5 separate regions of the Homo sapiens genome follow, and regions 1, 2, 3 and 4 are each linked to region 5. The links are contacts of gene promoters, found by promoter capture Hi-C in blood cells and fetal thymus (Javierre and others, 2016). All regions are on one chromosome and are shown on one strand. The core of a region is centred on a gene start or on the middle of the fragment in contact, and the rest is flanking DNA. Distances in the headings are between cores, read along the strand shown.

What was found. The method cuts DNA at HindIII sites, captures the fragments that hold promoters and counts their contacts. A CHiCAGO score of 5 or more calls a contact.
Region 1: a contact is called between the fragment with the promoter of ZNF569 here and the fragment with the promoter of ZNF230 in region 5, in 1 of 17 cell types (activated CD4 T cells). The highest score is 6.2, in activated CD4 T cells.
Region 2: a contact is called between the fragment with the promoter of ZNF345 here and the fragment with the promoter of ZNF230 in region 5, in 8 of 17 cell types (non-activated CD4 T cells, monocytes, total CD8 T cells and 5 more). The highest score is 23.9, in non-activated CD4 T cells.
Region 3: a fragment that was not itself captured here is called in contact with the fragment with the promoter of ZNF230 in region 5 in 7 of 17 cell types (total CD8 T cells, naive CD4 T cells, activated CD4 T cells and 4 more); the score reaches 12.6 in total CD8 T cells.
Region 4: the fragment with the promoter of CTU1 here is called in contact with the fragment with the promoter of ZNF230 in region 5 in 1 of 17 cell types (total B cells); the score reaches 5.9 in total B cells.

The regions. Positions count from the first base shown.
Region 1 is chr19:37,466,032-37,468,731 of GRCh38, reverse strand. ZNF569 (zinc finger protein 569) reads left to right here and starts at 1,288. Exons shown (of 6, transcript NM_152484.3): 1 at 1,288-1,648. It also overlaps a transcript of ZNF570 not described here. RefSeq lists an enhancer at 1,418-1,467. The HindIII fragment of the contact is 12,295 bases long and covers 1-2,700 here.
Region 2 is chr19:36,849,598-36,852,297 of GRCh38, reverse strand. It overlaps ZNF345 (zinc finger protein 345), which reads right to left and starts at 1,422. Exons shown (of 3, transcript NM_001242472.2): 1 at 1,330-1,422; 2 at 394-468. It also overlaps a transcript of ZNF790 not described here. RefSeq lists an enhancer at 1,660-1,899. The HindIII fragment of the contact is 2,588 bases long and covers 1-1,659 here.
Region 3 is chr19:36,685,247-36,687,946 of GRCh38, reverse strand. ZNF567 (zinc finger protein 567) reads right to left here and starts at 335. Exons shown (of 6, transcript NM_001322917.1): 1 at 313-335. ZNF567-DT (ZNF567 divergent transcript) reads left to right here and starts at 498. Exons shown (of 4, transcript NR_110708.1): 1 at 498-679; 2 at 1,141-1,261; 3 at 1,932-2,110; 4 at 2,436-2,508. RefSeq lists a silencer at 219-278 and an enhancer at 479-528. The HindIII fragment of the contact is 1,031 bases long and covers 855-1,885 here.
Region 4 is chr19:51,107,092-51,109,791 of GRCh38, reverse strand. It overlaps CTU1 (cytosolic thiouridylase subunit 1), which reads left to right and starts at 1,383. Exons shown (of 3, transcript NM_145232.4): 1 at 1,383-1,445. RefSeq lists an enhancer at 1,088-1,417. The HindIII fragment of the contact is 4,633 bases long and covers 1-2,700 here.
Region 5 is chr19:44,001,589-44,004,288 of GRCh38, reverse strand. It overlaps ZNF230 (zinc finger protein 230), which reads right to left and starts at 1,332. Exons shown (of 5, transcript NM_006300.4): 1 at 1,182-1,332. It overlaps ZNF230-DT (ZNF230 divergent transcript), which reads left to right and starts at 1,419. Exons shown (of 3, transcript NR_110727.1): 1 at 1,419-2,024. RefSeq lists an enhancer at 1,060-1,569. The HindIII fragment of the contact is 6,099 bases long and covers 1,139-2,700 here.

The sequences.
Region 1 (2,700 bases), core at 39-2,538, 6.5 Mb after region 5:
GTTCGAGACCAGCCTGACCAACATGGTGAAACCCCGTCTCTACTAAAAATACAAAAAAATTAGCCGGGCGTGGTGGCACGCGCCTTAAGTCCCAGCTACTCAGGAGGCTGAGGCAGAAAAATTGCCTGAACCTGGGAGGCGAAAGGAGGCGGAGGTTGCAGTGAGCCGAGATCGCGCCACTGCACTCCAGCCTGAGCGACAGAGCAAGACTCCGTCTTAAAAAACAAACAAACAAAAACCTCGTGACCTCAAATGATCCGTGCGCTTTGCCCACCCAAAGTGCTGGGATCACAGGCGTGAGCCACCGCGTCCGGCCTATTATCTCTTTATTAAAGGTATTAAGACCGGCCCCGTGCGGCTCATGCCTGTAATCCTAGCACTTTTTGAGGCCCAGGCGGGAGGATCGCTTGAGCTCAGGAGTTCGAGAGCAGCCTGGGCAACATAGCGAGACCTTATCTCTACTAACAAACAAACAAAAATCAGCCGGGCGGAGTGTCCCTTGATTGTGGTCCCAGTTACTCGGAAGGCCGAGGCAGAGAATCGCTTGAGCCCGGGAGTTCGAGGCTGCAGTGAGCCAACATCGCGCCGCTGCACTCTCCAGCCTGGGCAACAAAGTGAGGCTCTGCCTCAAAAAAAACAAAACAAACAAAAAAAAAAAAACACGAAAGGCATAGAGAAGTTAAGTACCTAGTCTGAGATGACACAGCTAGTAAGGCCAAGTCTGTTTAGAAGTCAGGCGGTCTGGCCACACTACTTTTCGCTCACGATCCCGGGTCATGAAATCCAATAACACTGTCACACTCACAATCGAGAAGTCCAGAAAGAACAAATACATGCACATTGTCTCTGACAAAACTGCAAGGTCAGAATCAAACAGCCACGAGAATATAAAACGCGACCATGGTCACACAAAAGGTCGCATATTCGCACGACCTCAGATGTCACTGGACAGGGTCTCTCGCCCTGGAAACCCCACTCCAAATTCCATGGCCGAAGTTTCACACATACAGTCACACTACGTCACTCCTCCCTCTTCTAGCCGCTGTCAGGACCTTAAGGCTCCAGCTGACCCGGCCTTCACTGGCCCTGGAGCTCTCACCACCTTCACCCCGCTGTATTCTAGCCTCAGGTAGAGACCCAAAAAGACGGAACTAAACACACTGAGCCGGGCTTCCTTCACGGACCTTGCGAACCTGCAGCTCCAGCCGACTGTAAGAAGGAAGTGCCTTTTTGCAGGTGGGGTCGGGGAAGTAGGGCCGCGAAGGCCTCTGGGAAATGTAGTTCGGCGCAGGAAGCAGCGGAACGATTCGATTCTTCTCAGCACCAAGTTGCGCTCCCAATCTCTCAGAGCTGGGCTCGCGGGAGGCCGCTCGTGCAAAACCTAGGCTGAGCTCCCCTGCGCGGAGCTGTGAGCCCTGGAACACCGTGGTCTGCTTCTCAGGACGCGCAAACAGTGAAGCCAGTCCCGCCCGGGTGAGCCGCGGGGGCCTCTGGGAAGCGTCGCCCCTGGTGTAACGGACCGAGACTTGTGGCGCTCTCAGCCACCGACAGCGCCGGCCTCAGTGCCGCCTCTGTCCCAGCCCGCGCCGGCTCTGCCACTTTGGCAGCGTTAAGTGTGGAATCGGGGCCTGTGTCCGCGGGCTTGGTGGTGAGTCCTCGGGAAACCGCTAGCTCTGAGCGCCGGACTCTTTGTGCTGGGTGGGAGTGGGGGCCCGCGGTCCTGGTGCCCCAATCTTTGGAGGAGGACGCCGGGCGGGGCGATGCCTGTGCTTGTGGTTCCCTGAGGCAGTGGGAGTGGCGTGTGAAGGACTGTGAGAGTCTGGCGTGAAGTGACTGTCATTTGCCAGACATTCGTCTGGCTGAGTGTGGCCCCGGGATCGTGTCCGTAAGCGGATTTCGTGGAGGCGCTTTCCCTTTTATCTTTCAGTATGAACCTGCGTGCAAACGTGCATGACAGTGGGATCTTGAATGAATGAAAAACTGTGGATACAAGGTAGGGTGTGCTTGTGGGTGTAGATGTGTGAGACTTGGCGTTTGTGCCAGCGCTGCATGTCTTTAGCTTTGGTCATTGGAAATACGTTGTTTTTTTGTTTTTGTTTTTGAGATGGAGTTTCGCTCTCGTTGCCCAGGCTGCTGGAGGGCAATGGCGCGATCTTGGCTCACCGCAACCTCCGCCTCCTGGGAAGAAGCAATTCTCCTCCCTCAGCCTCCCGAGTAGCTGGGATTACAGGCGCACCACCACGCCTGGCTAATTTTGTATTTTTAGTAGAGACGGGGTTTCTCCATGTGGGTCAGGCTGGTCTCGAACAACTGACCGCAGGTGATCCACCCGCCTCGTTCTCCCAAAGTGCTGAGATTACAGTCGTAAGCCACCGCGCCCGGCCGGAAATATGTTTTTATATGAAACATCGATATCCCCAACACTTTAATATTTATTTATTTTTAATTTTATTTTCGTGTATTAGCTACGTTGTTTTGTGTACTTACTAAACTCATTCTCCTCCTTCCCTACTCCACCCCATTTGGGGAGTGGAGTGGGGTGGAGAAAAATACAGAAAAGCTCGAAGAACAAAAATCATTCATAGTTCTACAGGCCATGCAACTACTGTCAAAATTTACTTTCCATCTTTTCACCCCCGCCTTTGTGTATACATACGTATACATTCATATGTTCTATATGTGTGCATAATGGCTTCAAAA
Region 2 (2,700 bases), core at 173-2,672, 7.2 Mb after region 5:
TAAAGAAATGCAAGCAAATGTGTACCAAAATATGCGCACAAAATGATCATAGTCACACTGCCTGTAGTAGCCAAAAATTACAAGACAAATGTCCATCAAGAGTAGAAGGATAAGGCCGGGCACAGCAGCTCACGCCTGTAATTCTGTCTCAAAAAAAAAAAAAAAAAAAGAAAGAAAGAAAAAAAAAAGAAAAAGAAAAATTAAAACCATCTGACAAATCAGTAAGGGAAAATCAGGTGTGGGAGGTGGGGTTTGAAGACACCACATTTTCTCAAAATGGAAACTCCAGGGATCAGGTCATCTCATAGGCAAGAATTTTCAAGAGAAGGAAAGCAACTATGTCCTGACAAAGAAAAAGGGATTTTTCTTAAACAAGAGGACAGGACAAGCTACCTTGCAGGTGCCTTGTGGATGTTCAACAGCCATTCTTTACTCCTGTTCGGAGGCCTCTATCCAAGCAGGGCAGGGCTGAGGAAGGAGAAAGCAGTCAGGAAACATCAGGTTCTTCTGAGAGGGAGTTGGTTTGACTATGTCAGAAGTTATCTTTGCTCAGCCCCTACTGCCCATCACCTACAGAGGAAGGTCAGAGAAGTCTAGGGCATCCTGCTTAATCCGGGCATCACAGACAACGGTAGGGTCAATGCCGTTCTGGGCAGAACCTGTCCCTGAGCTCACAGGGGTCTCCAATGGCTGAAGTCACAAAGACAAAGACTCCCCATACCTACATTGGCTATACGGACACATAGTCACACAAACTCACTCACACCGCAGGGACATAAACGTCACAGGCACCCCAAACCTAAACACAACACACAATCACACACTCATACACACCACGGGGGTAGACACGGACACAACCACAGAGTCCGTGGGCATCTCTCAAATTCCCAGTGACATACACCTTGGGGTCACAATGACAACAAATTCACACGCACCCTCCATCAACAATATCACCAACGCGCGCGCACACACACACACGGAAGCAGCCACAAACCTCAAAATTAAGGCATACTACACACAGTTCGGCAAATGGTAGTAAACACACACACACACACCCCAAGGGGACATACAGTCACAACCGCGGTCCAGGAACCTCACACTCGCAAACACAGTGCCCAACCCGGTCACAATTAAACTCTACTCACACCCGCACAAACATAAACAAAAAGTCCTCCTCCCCGCCCTCACAGTTCCATACACGGTCGCACAGACACACGCCCCCAGTCACAACCGTACACACTCCTCACAATCGCTCCTTAGCCTGTTCCCCACGCAGCCCACACAGGTCGGGAGTTCCTGTCGCGCCAGGCTCCGAGCCGCCTCACTTACGCCTGTTCGGATAGGGTCAGCTCCGTTCTACTAGAATCCACACAAGTCGACCCTAGCTATCTCACAAAGCCCCAAGGCCGCTTGCCCAAATCCGCGGGAAGATCCCGCCCACTCCTCAAGAGACAATCTAGTTATCGCGGGAGAGTGCCCTGGGCCTAGAGGCTTCTGGGAAGTGTAGTCCAGAAAGCGACAGGTTGCCGAAAGCTACAGCCCAGCCATCCCGATTCCCCTGGCGCGGACTCTGGCACCAACAAAACTATCTCTTTGAGGTGAGCTGCCCATCGGAGCCTTCCGGGAGTCTCACCTGACAAGGAGTCCCTAGACCAAGCTTTAGTCAGGCTCCTCTGAGCCCTTTTTGCTTGGCCAGGCCTCCTCCATAGCCTGCGAACAGCACTTCAGCAAGAATCCAGCTAAGCCAGTTTAGTAACAATCCCCCCACTCTTGATACTTAACTTCCTCTTAGTAATTTAGCATCCTTTAACTCCTTCACCCAGCCCGTTAGCTATAAATCTCCAGCTGCTGTTGTATTGGAAGTTGACTATTGCAATAGTCTTTAACCAAGTCCTTCTTGCCTGTTTAAGTCCTCTGGGGCAAGCTTTCTTTCACCCCGCCCAGCCTCAGAGGGCGGCTCCCGGGCTTCCGCCCCTCCTCGGGAGACATACTGGACCGCAGGGTCTCCTGGGAAACGTAGTCCAAGCCTCGCCGGGGATAGATGGGCCCAACTAAAGTGTGCTGCGTTCTCTGGGTCCTGAGGCGGCAGTCTGGCCGCAGTGACCAGACTAACTGTGCCCCGGAGGCTGCTTGGAATTCCACTTAACGCTGGAAGCACGCAGACGCTCTTGAGGCGGGCAGCTGCGTAGCGTGTGGAGGAGCCGGGAGAGCGCACCCCAATGTGGCACCTGAGCGTCTGGGACCGAACCAGCATGGGGAGTCGGAAGGGGACAAATCCGCGATCCCAGTCATGCATGTGAGACTGGGCAAAGGAAGGCTCGAGTGTGTGTGAGACCGCGGTGGGCCTGCTTGTGCTGGTGGGATGAGGGGTGTCTGGGTAGTTGAGTGAAAGAAACCGCGTGCGGGTCAGATTGGTGTGTGTGTGAGAGAAGTGAGGTCAAGATGTGTGCAGCTTTGGGCGTGGGGAGGTCATATTGAGTGTGTGGAGGTGGGGGGGGCAAGATCGTGTATGGATCTGTGTATGAGTGTGTGTAATCACCTGAATGTGGGTCACTGCGTGGGTAGCTGATACTATGACTGTGGAGGAATCTGAACCTCCAAGTCTCATTTTCTCTTTAAATTGTGATAACAAGGTTGTATCTTCCTGGTGCAGCAGTTTTAAAGGGGGGAAGCTCCATTACTGATATAATAAAATAGCAT
Region 3 (2,700 bases), core at 121-2,620, 7.3 Mb after region 5:
GTGCCAGGCCGTGCTCCAGGAGCCAGGGGACGAAAATCAGACGAAATTCCTGCCACTGGGGAGCTCACCCCCCGCCTCGGGCAACCGGTTCCCTTCTTCAGGTGCTCCCGGGCCCGCGCTCTGGTTCCTGCTTCCCTCCCAGCCTTCTCTGAGGCCCGGACTCGCACTTTCCTCCAGCCAACTCCTCGTCCCAGGTTGCTCCTCTTCCCTTCTTGCTTTCCCCAGCCCAGGCTCCCGCCTCCCTCCTCAGCCTTCCTTACGGGTCACACCGTCACCCGCCTTCTCCGCGCCCGCGGGACCCACCAGCCTCACCTTCGGTTGCCGGCCGGGCGTCTGCGCATGCGCACTCCCACGCGGACGATGCCTCCCAGGTGTCTCCGCGGCGCGTTCCTGCTGTCCACCGGCTACGCGCGCCTTCTCCACATCCGGGCGTTTCCGGCCTTGGACTACATTTCCCACAGGCGCCCGGGCGGTTTTCGAACTTTGATCTCTGGTTCCCCTTCCAAATTCTCATAGTGCGTGGCTGGGATGAGGGCGGCGCTCACGGTGAGGAAGCCCCGAGCTCCCGGGACGCAGACAGGGTGTGCAGGGCCGTAGCTCGGGCCTGTGTATGCACCTGTGCGTGTGTGTTTGATGCCAGGACAAGGCGGCGGTGTGCGCGGCGAGGAGGCTGCGACAGGTGCGTGATTGTGTTCCTGTCCCTGCTCGGATGCGGGACCTTTGGGTGGCCGTGGTCGGCTGTCGGGTGTGTGACACTGTAGGGTTTGAGACCTTCCATCATGACAGTGCTGCTGTGGCCGTGTGATGGAAGAGCCTTTTAGGTCTGTGGTGTTGTGTGTGTAACGGGTAAAGCTTCATTTCTGCAGTGCTGTGTTTAATGTTGGGACTGAGGGGTCTGTCGAAGATCTCCCCAATGTGCCTGTGAGGACTATGATCCATGCCTATGTTAAGCAGAGTCATCTTGCAATGAAGCATGGCCCGCGTTGTCTTCTCAGGGCACACCTGTCCCCAGTTCTCAGCCTGGTGTTTGACACAGGGGATCCTGGCGGAGTGCCCACCTAAGCGGCAGTTTTAGACTCGATTGTTTCTTGGGCTCTGCATCTCTGAGTTCCCAGCTTCCTTTTTTCTCCCGCTTTATAGCTGTATAGACCCCAGCTGCAGTGAAATGGCCATCAAAAAGGGAAGGGATAATCGAGTGGTGGAATAAAATCTGCAAACAGAAAAAGGACAGACCTGTTTTCGGAACGAGGCTTTTCGAGTTGTAAGTGTCCCTTAAGCAGAGTTCTGGGAAGACGTCGTGGGGAGAACCTAGGAGTAGGATTCCTTCCTCAGAGGCTCTCCCTTGGGAACTCTCAGAGGTCAGGTTCCATGTGATCCACATCATTCCCAGAGCTGTCTCCGCAGGAGACTTAACGTGAATTTTGAGAAAGTCCCCAGTCCTGGATATCAGTGACCCTGGCCTTTCCCTTGAATACTAAGAAGGGTTAGCAGTACTCCCATCTCCCTTTTACTTCCATCTGAGTATGTTTATGGTAGATGATGAGAGCTCGTGTGGTGGCAATAATTTTTTCCAATTTAGCCAATCTGGGTTCCAAGAAAGGTCTGATGTCTCATGATTCCTTACCCCTTCTCCCTTGCCTTGAGGTTCTCTAAGAGCCCTGAGGAAAGGGAACCATTGCTGAGCATATCTGAAAACCAAGGTCAAGGAAGTTTTGTTGTATTTTCTATTTTTGTTCTCTTTGATTTTGTTTTTCAGCAAGGGAGTATTTTTTCTCCTCCTGAAATGCTAGTCAGTGGTTAGGTTACTATTAGGCAGGGCCTTGTGAGGTGCTTTGACCAATAGAATGTGGTGGAAGTGATATTGTGAGACTTCTGAGACAAAGCTTCAGGAAGTCTTGCAGCTTTTTCTCTTCCCCTTTTCCTGCCCTGAGACCACCATGACTGAAGGCTAAGAGCAACTTGCTTGCGCATTAAAGATCACTTGGAGAGAGAGGTCCAGTGAGCAACAACGGCCAGAAATTTCAGGGAGACCATCTTGAACCATCCAGCCTCCACCAGGCCAACAGCTGACAGCTGTCACATGAATATGATCAGCAGAAGAACCACTCAGGCAAGCCAAGCCCAAATTGCCAAGCCCCCCAAATAATAAGCTAATTGTTTTTTGTTTTAAGCCATAAACTTTTGAGGTGGTTATATAGCAATAAATAACTGAAACAGGTGTTTAACTTTCTAGACTTTTTAAATGACCATATTGATATAATTGTATTGTTCAACCTGTTTTGTAAAGTGATTTCTCTGATACAGTATCTTGAAAATATTCCTTAACTATTTTCTACAACTTTGCATTTGTCTATCTTAGTATTATATTACATGGATATGTGGTAACTTATTTAACTACTAACTTCCCTTTGCAATTCCTTTTCCTTGCTGTCTAGCTCCCATGTCTTGACCAACTTTGCATTCCCCTCCAGGACCTTATGGGCACATGGGTTCCTATCATTTCACGGGTATGTAGACTCAGGAATGTGGCATTGACTTCTGGGTGGAGTACAGATGACTGACACCCCCACCCCGATTCGGAGGAATTATTCAGGGGTGTGATATAACACCTACATACATTTATTTAACTAGCCAATTTGGTCTCCCCTTTTTTTGTTTTGAGACCGAGTCTTGCTCTGTCGCCCAGGCTGGAGTGCAGTG
Region 4 (2,700 bases), core at 134-2,633, 7.1 Mb before region 5:
ACGCACACAGATGAACAGAACTGGCCCATGATAAGGCTTAAGAGTGACCTCACGGAGCTCATTTAATATGAAAGGAAGGCATCATGGTTTCCTGTTATGGGGGAAAAAAATGGGCTACAGGGTGCATGGGGTTCCTTCTCACGTCATCACCGGCCGTAGACCTACACATCCTGGGGCTCTCTGCACATCTCCACATCTCAGTCTAAGGCTCTGGTGGTCCCTTAATCTAGAGGATTTTTTTTTTTTTTTTGAGACAGAGTCTCACTCTGTGGCCAGGCTGGAGTGCAGTGGCGCGATCTCGGCTCACTGCAACCTCTGCCTTCTGGGTTCAAGCCATTCTCCTGCCTCAGCCTCCCGAGTAGCTGGGACTACAGGCGCGCACCACTACGCCCAGCTAATTTTTGTATTTTTAGTAGAGATGAGGTTTCACCATGTTGGCCAGGATGGTCTCCATCTTTTGACCTCGTGATCCACCCGCCTCGGCCTCCCAAAGTGCTGGGATTACAGGTGTAAGCCACCGCGCCGTCTAGAGGAATTTTGAGCCTCAGTTTTTTCGAGGACCTAGGTTTGGGGACCTGGATCTCAAGGGTCTCAGATATCTGAGTCCTTAAACTCCTTGTGCCCCGGTATTTGAGTCACCGGGGTCTTCAAGACCCTTGGGCCTTGTGGGGAGGGTGGAGGCCTCCAGATCCCTGTGTCTAGGGTGCAGACGGTTGTCTCCAGGTCTACTGGTTCTCTCAGGTGCTTTGGTGCCAGGGGTCTGCGTTTTTAACCCCCTTAGTCTCAAGGGTCTGAGTCTCTGAGCCTCTGGGCTCCTGGGTTAGGTGAGAAGGGTCTTTGGATCCTTCTGTTTAGAGTCTGGGTCTCCAGCACGCGCATCACGACAGCCCCCGCGTGCGCGCGGAGTTCCACTCCAATCCTCGAAGTCTGCTCTACGCATGCGCTATCTGCGCCTTTTACACTAGCGACCAACCCCTGCAGTTCCACCTTCAATTCCCACCCGCAACCCCGCCTCAAAGGGCAGAAATCATAGGCCCTGTAATCCCCTTAAAATCCTATAATAATCCCACAAAATCAGTTAATCAGAATACAACTACTTCGCCCATCCAGCAACCTGCCGGGTGACAGCGCGCTGCCATGACAACAGTACACGCAGCTCCGCCGCTCCCTGCGGCCGCGCGCAGGCGCAGAAAGTAAACGCGGGGGGAGGGGGAGCAGTGTATTTTGGGAGCGGCAGAAAGAGCAATGCAAGTGTTTCTGGGAGTTGTAGGCCAAGCGGGACCCCGGAGCCGTAGGCGCATCCAGCGGAAGTGTCGCATGGGCTTCTGGGAGTTCTAGGCAAGAAAGCCCCAAGACCTTATGGGAGTGGTAGTCTCGGAGTCACTTCCGGGCCAGGCTTCCGCGTGGTGGGCAGTGTGGGCATCCCAGCACTGAGTTCTGCCCGGGTGAGTATTTCCTCCTGCGGTGGGTCGGCATGTGGACTCCGGCTCTTTGTTGCGGTGCCGTGGGAGGGTTGAGGGTCTCTTCGAGCGTAAGGCCTCTGTGATTTCCCAGCGCCCGTGTCCCTGAGGCCTTGTAGCCAGGATTCCCACTTTGAACGCTGCGGTCCGGCCTGTCTCTTACCGGGCCACTCCCTTCCCCAAGACAGGATAAGACCATCTGCTTGCCCCCGCCCCTATGTTACTATCTGCCTGTCCCCGCCCCCATGCCACACATTATCTGTCCTTTTGACAAGGCTGCAATCCAGAGGCATCCCTGGGGTCCGCGGCCTCTCTTCTGGGAGCACTTATTATTCCCTCATCCTACAGATACTTACTGAGCACCGACTCTGCGCAGGGCGGCGGGAGCGAGGGCACCAGACCAACCCTGTCCCTGCCTTGAAGCAGAGAGACAGACCTGTCACCAGTGACAGCTAGTCAGGATCAGGGCAGCTCTGAGGGCCCTGGTGGAGGCGCTCGACTCAGTGACGAGGGTCCATAAAGTCTTTGAGGGAAGACGCTTAACATGCATGTCAAACCTGACGTGGCCAAATGGAATTCCTGGTCTTCTCACCTCACAAAATGGCCCCACCGTCCCTCCAATGCTCAGGCCAGAACCTCAAAGTTACCCTTCATCACTTTCTCTCGTCGTTGCCCCAGTCCCCACTCCAATCAGTCTTATACAAGTCCTGTGGGCTCCACCTTCAAAATAGATCCAAAATTTCACTTCTTCCCACCTCTACTGCCAGCACTCCTGTCTAGTGTGCTGACCTCCAGCCTTCTGTCCTTGTCCCTGACAACCAACAGTCCTCCCCACACAGCAGCCAAACGAATCCCACTTTTTTTATTTGAGACAAGGTCTCACTCTATCACCCACGCTGGAGTGCACTGGTGCGATCATGGCTCACTGCAGCCTTGACCTCCTGGGCTCAAGTGATCCTCCTGCCTTGGCTTCCTGAGTAGCTGGTACTACAGGCCTGTGCCACCAGGTGCAGCTAATTTATTTATTTATTTTTTTAGAGATGGGGTCTCGCTATGTTGACCAGTCTAGGAATCCTTTTAAAACATGCCAGATCATACCACTTTACTGTTCAAAAACCTCCCAAGGCTCCCATCTCCTCCTGAATAAACCTAAAATTCCACATCATGGCCTATGAGGCTCTGCTAACTTGTGCAGCCTTGTCCCCTGCGAGCGTCTCCCTTCCTCAGGACGTGGACCCCC
Region 5 (2,700 bases), core at 83-2,582:
TACTACCTTTACATCTTGGATACATGGGTAATTAAAAAACTTTTTCTACTCTCATTTCTCCTATTTCAGACTTTTCCACAATGATACAGTTCCACAACAGTACGAAATACTTGGAAAACATGAAACAAAATAGTTGAGAAATTTTTAAAAATTCCTAGACGTCCAAGCCCACGAGCCTTGCTCTCAACGTCCTTTCAATCAGGTCCTAACTTGCTTTCCCTACGAGTCCAGCTAGTTCCTCTGCCTCAATGAGAATGTATCCAAGAGGTGATCAACTCAGGCTCTGACCTGGACTGCCTAGGTGCCAACCCCAGCTCTACCTCTCACTAGTTGGCTGCTATGCACCCTGTGTCTCACTCTCATTTTTAAAACAAAGAAAAGCAATACTTCACAGAGCCACAGTGTGGCCTAAATTTATTTGTATAAAGCACTTAGAATGAAGTTACCAATTACGGCTTAATGATTATCAACACCCATTCCCGAGGACACACTCTCGGTTGGGTGAACATCTCTATAAAGGAAAAAAGCCAAGGACCAATCACATAGAGATTTGCCCTCAGTAGCCAAGAAGTCCCCTCCCTGCAGCTCTTTTAGAAAGGTCAGGCTGGGGAAGGCGAAAGTTGTGAAATACCCTGACTGCATCGCGGTCCCCCATAAAAGTTAAATGCTCCCCGCCCTTCGTGGAAGCGGACGCAACTCGCTTTCCTAAAAAGAGGTCAGAAGGCCTCCCGGGATCATCCAGCGTCCTGCAGGGATTAGGGAGAAGGACCAGGGCCCCTGCAGCTGAAGCTATGACTCCACCCGGGGACCTGACCTCTTCGGGAAGTTAACAAGAGACCACCAGTCACCAAGTGACAGGGACTGCTTTAAGGTTCTCATTTGCGTTATCTCTTTCAGTTCCCAAAAACGATTCTACTAGGATGGTTCTAATGTCCCCATTACCAAAAACAGCAATGGAAAGTATAAGGACATTGAGTAACACTCCACGTCACACTGCGAGAAAGCGGTCGCACAGGTAGGGTGGAGAGAGGCAGGCTGAGCGAGGTCAAAGTCCTGGAAACGCTCACAGCAGGGCACAGAGGACCCCGCCAATTCCAACCCCCGGGATGCGAGCACAGCACCCCCATCCCAGAAAGCTTCCGTGGACGGGAAAAAAACCCCATTCCCCGCCCCCACCAAACCTCCGCTCTCCGCCAAGGCTTCTTTTCCCTTGCTTGGATCATCGATCATCGGGTCGTTGCGACCCCAAGCGAAGGTGACAAGTTCAGAAGGACCCGCCAGACGCAGAAATGGCTCAAACTACGCGGTTATGTAGCAACCGCAGGCTCACACACCGGAAGTGCTCGCGTCTCCACAGAGCGTCTGGACTCCACTTCCCAGAATTCCCCGGTTCAACTGCTTGAGCCAAAGGGTCCGCCATTCCATGAAGTTGATGGACTACAGTTCCCAGAATTCACTCGTCCACCCGCCTGAGCCAACTTGCCCGCGACTCAGAGTGTGTCTGGACTCCGCTTCCTCCAATGCCAAAGGAAAATGTCTATAATCTCACTCTTCAGCGGGAAGCGTTGGACTCCGCGGTGGTCCTTGACTACACACACCGCAGTGCCCACCGGGAACGTATTCCATATCTCTGAGCGCCTGGTGGGGAATGTGGACTGTGACCCTGTGAGTCGTCCGTCTCTCTTCCTGAGTCTTTGAGCGAAAATAGTGTATAGACAGGAATTCCTGAAGTCTAAACGCCTCCCACGATGACAGGAGTGTTATTGGGAAGAGAACAAACGAGGAGATAAAATCTTCAAGGATTAGGATAATCTGACGATGGGAGGTTAAAACTAACGGTTTAAAGGATGAGCCAGGTGGAATGGTTTGGCAGGGGCAATGAGGAGCAGGAAGACACCAGCCCCTACTCCAGAAGCTGTGGGACCACTGGTTTGGCAGGAAAAGCCACCCCCATTTAAGATCACAGCTACTAGTGGAGAAGCGGTGTCGTCATGGAATAGCTATCTTCCCATAAACTTTTCATGGTATTCATATTTCTCCTTAGATGTAGAAACATCAAATTTCAGCGAATGTAGTGAATTGCTCAGTACCTCAGAGCAATAATGACTGATGAAGAGCTAGGCATTGGTATCAATCTTACATTGAGATTGTAAATGCAGTAAAACGGGAGGATTCTATAGGTGAAGGAGCATGTCTTATAAAGAGTTTTCTTCCTGGCCAAGCGCAGTGGCTCAAACCTGTAATGCCAACCCTTTGGGAGGCCAGGGCAGGACGTTCCCTTGAGCTCAGGAATTGGAGACCAGACAGGGAAATACAGGGAGACTTCGTCTCTATAAAAATTTTTTTTTAACTGGCCAGGCATGGTGGCCTGATCTTGGGACTACAAGTTCCAAGTACTCAGGAGGCTGAGGTGGGAGGATTGCTGAAGCCCAGGAGTTTGATTGAGGCTGCAGTGAGCTATGATGCCACCACTGCCCTCCAGCCTAGGCAACAGATACCTCAATAATTAAAGATTTTTTTTTTTAAGTTTCTTCTTATTTCTTGGTGAAACATAATTTCTTTATTATAGTTAGCAATTTAAAAACTGGCATTGGTTAAAAAATAATAACAGTATAAAGCTAAATTAGGAAACAATTCATCTAAAAACCTGCTCTTTTGAAGGTAACTTTTTTTCTCCCTATAAACATACATTGGCCTATA